Linked DNA regions of Homo sapiens: all the other regions are linked to region 3. Evidence: promoter capture Hi-C in 16 types of primary human blood cells and fetal thymus (Javierre and others, 2016). All regions are on one chromosome and are shown on one strand. Each heading gives the region's core, a stretch centred on a gene start or on the middle of the fragment in contact. The rest is flanking DNA. Distances are from core to core; before and after follow the strand shown.

Region 1 (2,700 bases), core at 132-2,631, 420 kb before region 3:
GGGACACATCTAGGCACTGTCTACCTACCCTAGCAGATGCCAAAGGTCTCCAGGACACTGGGGGCACTGTGAACTATTTCTGGGGTATTCCATTCTGCCCTGATGGAGTAGACCCTAACCAGTATACCAAGGTCATTCTCTGCCAGTTGGAGGTTTATCAAAAGAGCCTGAAAATGGCTCAGAGGCAGCTCCTTAATAAAAAAGGTTTTGGGGAACCAGTGTTACCTAGACCTCCTTCTCTGATCCAGAATGAATGTGGCCAAGGAGAGCAGGCTAGTGAGAAAAATGAATGCATCTCAGAAGATATGGGAGATGAAGACAAAGAGGAGAGGCAGGAGTCTAGGGCATCTGACTGGCACTCAAAAACCAAGGATTTCCAGGAAAGCTCAATTAAAAGCTTGAAAGAGAAACTTTTGTTGGAGGAAGAACCAACAACCAGTCATGGTCAGGTAAGGGTCAGTGATGCTGTAATTAAGGATGATTTATTCACAGATTAAAACAAGGATTATTTTAGCTGTTATTTTTGTGGTCTTCCCCTCCTTGATTATTAAAGTAATACATGTTCACTATAGAAAATTAGGAAAGTACAGGAGAGTATAAAGAAGAAAAAAACTACCATTTTTTTTTTTTTGAGTTGGAGTCTCGCTCTGTCTCCCAGGCTGGAGTGCAATGGCGCAATCTTCGGCTCACTGCAATCTCCACCTCCCGGGTTCAAGCAGTTCTCCTGCCTCAGCCTTCCAAGTAGCTGGGATTACAGGTGCTTGCCACTATGCCCTGCTAATTTTTGTACTTTTAGTAGAGACGGGGTTTTACCCTGTTGGCTAGGCTGGTCTTGAACTCCTGACCTTGTGATCTGCATGCCTTGGCCTCCCAAAGTGTTGGGATTACAGGCGTGAGCCACCACACCTGGCCAGTCATCATTTCTATGCATACAAAAATACATGAAAAAATTTTTTGAACAAAATGAAGACTCTTCTGTGTTAAGTTTTGTTCCTCTCCCTACTTTATAGTTTATCTTAGATCATTTCTTAATAGATGACTTATTCTACCATAGATAAACCATAATTTATTTTTTGTATAAATTTTTTTTTTTTTTTTTTAAAGACAAGGTCTCGCTCTGTCACCCAGGCTAGAGTGCACCGATGCCATCTTGGGTCCCTGCAGCCTCCACCTCTGGGATCAAGCGATCCCCCAACCTCAGCCCGTCGCAATAGCTGGGACCATAGGTGCACGCTACTACGCTGAGCTAATTTTTATATTTTTTGTAGAGATTGAGTTTCACTTTGTTGCCCAGGCTGGTCTCGAACTCCTGTACTCAAGCCATCCACCTACCTTGTTCTCCTGAAGTGTTGGCAGTGTAGGCATGAGCCAACACGCCTGGTCTAAAAATTATTATTATTTCTGAAAGGTTAAATTTTTGAATAGGTAACAATATTCACATGGCTCGAAATTCAAAAATATATAAGTAAAAAGTCTTAACTTTTCTCCCTATCACCTAGCCAGCCAGTTCCCCTCTCTGGACTCAAATTTGTGTTACTAGTTCTAGTGTATCCTTCCAAGATACTTTATCTGGTACAAGCAGAATACATTTTCTTTTCCCTGCCTTCTTTTACACAAATGATTTACACATTATTTTCTACTTTTTTCATTTAATATCCTAATGAGATCATTACATAACAGTATATAAAGAATTTCTTCATCTTTTTTTTTTTTTGGATGTGAAAAATACCATGTGTGGATTAGTCAGAGTTTACTGTTACAGATAGTAAAATGTCCAGAAGACATTTCATCCACATGGAAGATATTTGTATTATATGATAATTTTCTGTAGCTGTAATTGGTGGACCAAAAAATGTATTTATAATTTCATTAGCTGTTGCCAAATTGCCCTCCATAGAGATCATATACATTTACATTCCCACTGGCAGTGTATGAATACTAGTTTCTCCATACCTACAGTAATGCAGTATTGTCAGACTTCTTGATCTTTGCCAGTCTGAGAGATGAAAAATGGCGTCTCAGTGTAGTCTTAATTTGCGTATCTCTTACTATTTGTGAGGCTGAACTTTTTTCTCACATGTCTAAGACCCATTTGTATTTCCTTTTCTGTCTGTTAGATCTTATGATCATTTTTTCTTTTGATAATCTATTGGTTTGTGGATACACTTTATATAGTAGAGAAAGTAGTCCTTTGTGATATGAAGTATGGATAGTTTCCGAGTTATTTTTTCCCATTACATAATGGTGTATATTTATTATTTTGCTTGTAGTGGTTTTGAATAATTTATTGAAACCAATCTTCATCTTGGTACATTTAGTTTGCTTTTTCTGAAGTAGCTAGATTATATTGTGTATGAAAGCTTATATCTTATTTTTCCCTTTGAATATTATAAAGCAATAATATAAACTCTTTATATATAAATTGTAATTTTAAAGAGTATTCTGTTTTATGACTATACTGTTTTTTCTTGCTATTTCTGTTACCAGACTTTGACTTTTGGTTTTGTTTTACTATTATGTTATTCTGTCTTTCTTGTGTTATGATAAAGGTTCAAGAAATGGTAACTTTGAGGAGCTTCATAGAATAGAGAACATGGATTTGGAGTTGAGTTCTGATTTTTGTGTTTAGTAATTTGTGTGTTTTTGAGCAAGTCACTTAACCTCTTTGAATCCCAGTTTCACGTCTATACAGTGGGAATA
Region 2 (2,917 bases), core at 317-2,816, 350 kb before region 3:
AAAACGAGGTATGTGTTAGACTGGGGAGTTAGCAGATAGCTGGGATGGAAGACAGCACAAACATTAAGGCCTTGTTCCTGCCTAGGTCCCTTTGCACACAACCTTTTGAGTTAGAAGAAGGCAAGATGGCAGTCTCACTGTCTTTTCCTTCCATAGATAATGTCTTGCTGTTGGATGGCACTGACCTAGTGGCTAGCAGCACATAAGAAATAGCTGTTATTTTTTGAGCAACTACTACGGTCCAGGCAATGTATGTGGCCTTCATTTAATCCTCATAGCAACCCTATGGGGTATAGGTATTATCATCTCAATTTCCAGATGAGGAAGCAAAGGCTTAGAGTAACAAATAAGCCACTTTTTGTCCATGGCAGTGGAACCACAGTGCCCCTACTCTTCATTCCTGAAGAAAATGCTATATTTTGACTCCAGTATTGATTATTTTCCTGTTTTTCTTCTAGTGAAAAGTAGTTTATCAGTTATGTCCCATAAGCTTAACTCTCGCTTGTTTTCTCTTTCATTAAATGGCAATTTATTGGAGGTAGCGCTGTATAAACAGGGGACAGTGTGTGTATCTGTTTGCCTGAAGATAAGAAAAGGGAAAGGGTACTTCTGGAAAGTGAATTATTTAGCTTAAAATTGAGCAGTTTCCCTAAAACATGAGTCAGCAGCAGGAGGGTATGGATCAGCCAGACCAGGAACCACAGGCTTAATTATTAGCTAATGGGGAGTCAAGGGAAGAACAGCTACCCACTTCCCCCATCGCCTCCTCACAACCGTCTTGTTTGCCCACAGTCTTATTCTCCCCATGCTGTGATCCTGTGAGAGGAGCATTAGTGAAAGAGTGAAGAGACAAAGTATAAAATGTGTGAGATCAGCCTACATCTGCACCCTGCTTCTGATAAAAGTTAACCTCTCTGAGACCTGGCTTTCTTGTCCATAAAATGGGAAAAGATCATACTAACAGGGTTCTAAGGATTACCATAATGTGGATAAAGCTTTGATCCAGCACAATGTCATCACATAGAAGAATGAGTTAGTGGCAGCAGTTATTAATGTGATGCTAGTCTATGTGTCACAAATGATGTTGCACTGAGGGGTGGAGGGATGGGGGACGGGTGCAGATGCAAGAGGAGATAGTTTTCAGAGGAATGTGTACTCAGGAGGGACTACTCGGGCTCCATCAACCATCAGGCTTCCACAGGAAACTTGGGTCCCAGGCATCTAGAGTTCTCCTAGGGCCCCTGGATTTCTTTTACTTCTGAAAGATGAGAAATAGCTGTTCTGCTGATGCTGCCAACTCACGGAGAGCTGGGAAGCTCCATAAACTTCACAAGCTATTGCCGTAAATTGGAAGAGATAGAGGGGGACTTCTCTTTGTTAGGCGCTGTAGTTGTGCTTTTTCATTTAGTCCTTACAGCAGCCCCAGCAGAGGTTGTGCCTCGCCCATTTCCCCCAGGCATTCGCCATTCTGCTGTATACCCACAGAGTCCTGTTGCAAGTACCTGAGACTCTGCCTGAGGACTTCTCTTGGTTTGTGTTGGCACAAGCTGAGAGTACCAGGGAGTTAGTGCCCCTGGGACAGCTCTCAGCCAGTGGAAGTGGGAGGATAGATACCCCAGCTTCCTCACTCAGTGAGGGACAACTCTAAGGCACATTCTACCTATTTCTCAGGGTTCCCTGTGGGAGTGAACCTCTCTAAGCTCCCAGTAACAATTAACGTACACTTCCTTGGCTTCTTTCTCTTCCTACCTGGCTTCCAGCTCCTCTTCTGTATTTTCCTGATCAGGACTGGGACTAGGGTGATGAGCCTTTATTCTTGGGTTCATCTAAGTGCAAGGTTGGCACCCGTATGAACCTGAGAGGGTCTCTTTACATTCTGTACCCTAGGCATATCATTTGCATTGCCCTGATTCTGGCCCTGTCCTGGATCACTTCCCAAATAAAGTTATTTGCATTCAAATTAGGTCTGCCTCTGGGTTTACCTAACCTAAAGCAAATCCTATGAAGACATCAGTCTCCAAGTTTTATACAAGGAAAACCGAGGCTCAGAGGAATAAGAAATTTGTCTAAGGTCTTTCAGTTGGTAATGAGATGGGATTTTGAAACCAGGTCTGCCTGACCCCAGAGCTGAAGCTTTCTGTACTATAGCACACTACTTCCTACTTCTCATTTCAGTCACAAAACTAATGACTCAAGGGAAATTTCAGGTTTGGATGAGCTCATTTTTGCCTGTGAATCAGGGTAGCTTTGGCCTTAGGTTGTTAGCAGATGGGAATTTGGGGAGGGGAAGGCAGGTAGTAAGTGGATGAGAGGGTTGTAGTTGTCAGTGGAAAGATGGACTAGTGGAAAGACTGCTGAAACCATATGCACCAGGAAGACAGTAAGAGCTTGCTTGCTTCCTCTCAGTTTCAAAAGCCCTGGACTTTTTTTTTTTTTTTTTTTTTTTTTGAGACAGTCTTGCTCTGTCACCCAGGCTGGAGTACAGTGGCGTGATCTCGGCTCACTGCAACTTACCCTGCCTCCCAGGTTCGAGCAATTCTCTTGCCTCAGCCTCCCGAGTAGCTGGGATTACAGGTGCACACCACCACGCCCGGCTAATTTTTTTAATTTTTAGTAGAGACGGGGTTTCACTGTATTGGCCAGGCTGATCATGAATTCCTGACCTCAAGTGATCCGTCCACCTCGGCTTCCCAAAGTGTTGGGATTACAGGCGTGAGCCATCATGCTTGGCCAGCCGTGGACTATTGAGATTGTGGGAGGGCTCTTCAATTTAACAAAAATTAATTGATACTTGTTCCTTGCCAGATAAAGAACTGAGGTCTGAGGCTGCACGGGTGAATAAGAAACATTCTCTGGGAGCCCATAGTACAATGGGGAAGAAGAACACATAAACAGATGCCTTTAATAAACAGATATA
Region 3 (2,747 bases), core at 14-2,513:
TCCTATCCTATTATTCCAAGGAAACCGAGGCTCATAGATGCCCAGAGATGGGTGAGCCAGGGGCAGCAGGTTAGACCCAGGCTGCCTCCAAATCCAGGGGTCCCTGGGCAAGCCTTGGTCTGGGCTCCGTTGATCCAGGAGGCCGTGCCTGCACCCACAGAGCGGACTCCAGCCGAGCCTGGGTGCCCGGAGCAAGGATGTGGGACCTGAGCACGCAGCTCCCCGCCACGGGCCCTCCCAGTGCCTATGGCCCAGGCCACCTGGCCCAGCAGACACATACAGACTCAAACAGCCCTGGGTTCAGATGGCAGCATTTCACATATTTGTTGTGCAACCCCAGGCAAGCCCTCTCCCCTCTCCAGGCCTCAGTTTCCCCTGCTGAGAAGCAGAGTGAGGATAAAAATCAAGGGGTCTACACACGGGCCATGACTTGTTTCCATCTGCCGGACCTCGGTGCTCACTGGGACCCTGCCTTGTGCCTGGTGCCCAACCCAGCACAGGCCTGCCTGAGTGACGCAGCATGGCCCCGACTCTCAGCTGGGTCACCACCTCCTCTACCAGGGCAGAGAGATGTGCAAGGCCCGGACTGGGCAGAGCTGGGGCCAGCCTGGGTCAGTCCCTGCCTGACACTTCCTAGCACTGGCTGAGGTGGCACTGGGCTCGGTCATAGGCCACATGCTCACCTTTGCCTCAGGGCTTTTCAGGCCCTTTCTGGAACTCTTCTCATCCCCATTTGATAAATGAGGAAACGGAGGCCCAGAAGAGTTAAGTAGCCCACCAAGGTCAGGGTGGAGCTGGGATGTGAACCGAGCAGCTGGGGTAAGAGCCCAGGTCAGCTTCCCCGTCCTCAACCCCTGAGCATCCTATGAAGGGGTCAGGCCAGTTACCTCGTTTCCCTGGGGTGCCTGCCTCCCTTCCATCCTCTGAAGAATCATCCCTTGAGGACTTGGATGGGAAGGGGGCCATCAGCCCCCAGGGAAGGAGGTATTATTATCCCATGTTTACCAAAGAAACAGGCCTCACAGCAGGCTGGGACCTGACCCGGCTCTGCCCCATCTAGCGTGTGACTTCCCCTGCCCAGCTTCAGGGGAGACTTTTAAAGACCCCCAAGCTTGCCTTGGCTCTAGGGATCCCCCCAACCCCCACATTTCTCTGGCCCAGAGACCCCCGATGAGCTGGATAGTCCCTACCTGTGTCCCCTTCGCCACGGAGGCGGCAGGCAGGCGCCGGACAGGCGCTGGCACACAGGTGGGCACCCTCTGCGGCCTGCAGCTATGTGGCCAGCAGACTTTGGCACCATCTCCACCTCCACTGAGCAATCATTAACCCTGCCAGAGACCACACCTCCCAGGAGGGGTCGACTCCTAATGAGGCAGAGTACAGCTGGGGGCGCCGGACAGGAGGAAGGGACCAAGGCGCCAGAGCTCCTGGCGCTCCTGGGGCTGGAGGCCCACACCACAGGAGAAGGGGCCTGGCCGACCCTGAGCCCAGAGGACCTGGGAACAAGGCCCAACACTGGGGCAGGCTGGAGGCGGGGACGGTGACAGTCAGAAGGTGATGCCAGAGCCCCCGTCCCCTCCCTGCTACGAGTCTTCAGTGACAGGGGATCTGTGGACAAGTGGGGGATTGAGTCAGGAGAGGGAAGTGGTAAAACAGTGTAACAATCAAACACTGTGTGGCCAGACCAGCCCCTGTGAGGTTCTCGTGGAGGACTGGGGGCTAGCTGAGCCTGGACAACCCACTTTCGAGCCTGTTGACACTGATCTCACCCCGCATTGAGACCCTCAAAAGGCATCTGCCCGTCCCCAGGGGCTTCATCCACTCCCAAGTTGCCTTTTTTTTTTAATTATTTATTTATTTTTGAGTCAGAGTCTTGCTCTGTCACCCAGGCTGGAGTGAAGTGGCACAATCTTGGCTCACTGCAATCTCTGCTTCCTGGGTTCAAGCAATTCTCCTACCTCAGCCTCTCGAGTAACTGGGATTACAGGCGTGGGCCTCCACACCCGGCTAATTTTTTTTGTATTTTTAGTAGAAACAGGGTTTCACCATGTTGGCCAGGCTGGTCTCGAACTCCTAACCTCAGGCGATCCGCCTGCCTCGGCCTTCCAAAATGCTGGGATTACAGGGATGAGCCACGGAGCTCGGCCCCCAGGCTGGCTTTAAGCGCTGCCCGATGTGGTGGCCTCCCGAAGGGGCTCAGCCACAAGTCCTTCTTATCCTCACTTTGGCCCAGCCATCACAGTTGACACAGAAAGGGGACCCTGGGCACAACTTTCTTAAGGCACACCACTGAGTCGTCACCATTGGGTGGCCCTCTTCTTGTGGGCAGAGGACATGTCTAATTCACAATAGATATATAGTCATGCACCATATATCTGTGTTTTGGTCAACAACGAACCACACATATAATAGCGGTCCCATAAGAGTATAATATCATCTTTCATGGCACCCTTTCTGTGTTTACATGCACAAATACTTACCCCTGTGTTACAGTTGCCTGCAGCGTGCGGTACAGTCCCAGGCTGCATAGGTTAGCAGCCCAGGAGCACAGGCGGTGGTATAGAGACTGGGTGTGTAGTAGGTGGTACCGCCTAGGTTTGTGTAAGTCACTGTGTGATGTTCACACAATGACGAAATTGCCTGATGACACATTTCCCAGAAGGTGTCCCCGTTGTTAAGGGTTGTGTTGACTGTATATCAGGCAGTTGCTATAGTCAGGCATTTTAATAGTTTGCTTCCCAACTCTC

The links. Contacts are between HindIII fragments. The CHiCAGO score rates a contact against its expected background, and 5 or more counts as called.
Region 1: a contact is called between a fragment that was not itself captured here and the fragment with the promoter of CDHR2 in region 3, in 1 of 17 cell types (naive B cells). The highest score is 5.9, in naive B cells.
Region 2: a fragment that was not itself captured here is called in contact with the fragment with the promoter of CDHR2 in region 3 in 1 of 17 cell types (M0 macrophages); the score reaches 5.7 in M0 macrophages.

What each region holds. Positions count from the first base shown.
Region 1 is chr5:176,966,304-176,969,003 of GRCh38, reverse strand. UIMC1 (ubiquitin interaction motif containing 1) reads left to right here. Exons shown (of 15, transcript NM_001199298.2): 6 at 1-449. Among named protein-coding and RNA genes, the nearest start is that of UIMC1, 39 kb to the left of the region's middle. The HindIII fragment of the contact is 1,963 bases long and covers 400-2,362 here.
Region 2 is chr5:176,901,269-176,904,185 of GRCh38, reverse strand. No RefSeq gene overlaps it. Among named protein-coding and RNA genes, the nearest start is that of HK3, 3.4 kb to the right of the region's middle. The HindIII fragment of the contact is 1,138 bases long and covers 998-2,135 here.
Region 3 is chr5:176,547,858-176,550,604 of GRCh38, reverse strand. It overlaps CDHR2 (cadherin related family member 2), which reads right to left and starts at 1,263. Exons shown (of 32, transcript NM_017675.6): 1 at 1,191-1,263. RefSeq lists an enhancer at 58-991. The HindIII fragment of the contact is 9,099 bases long and covers 1,114-2,747 here.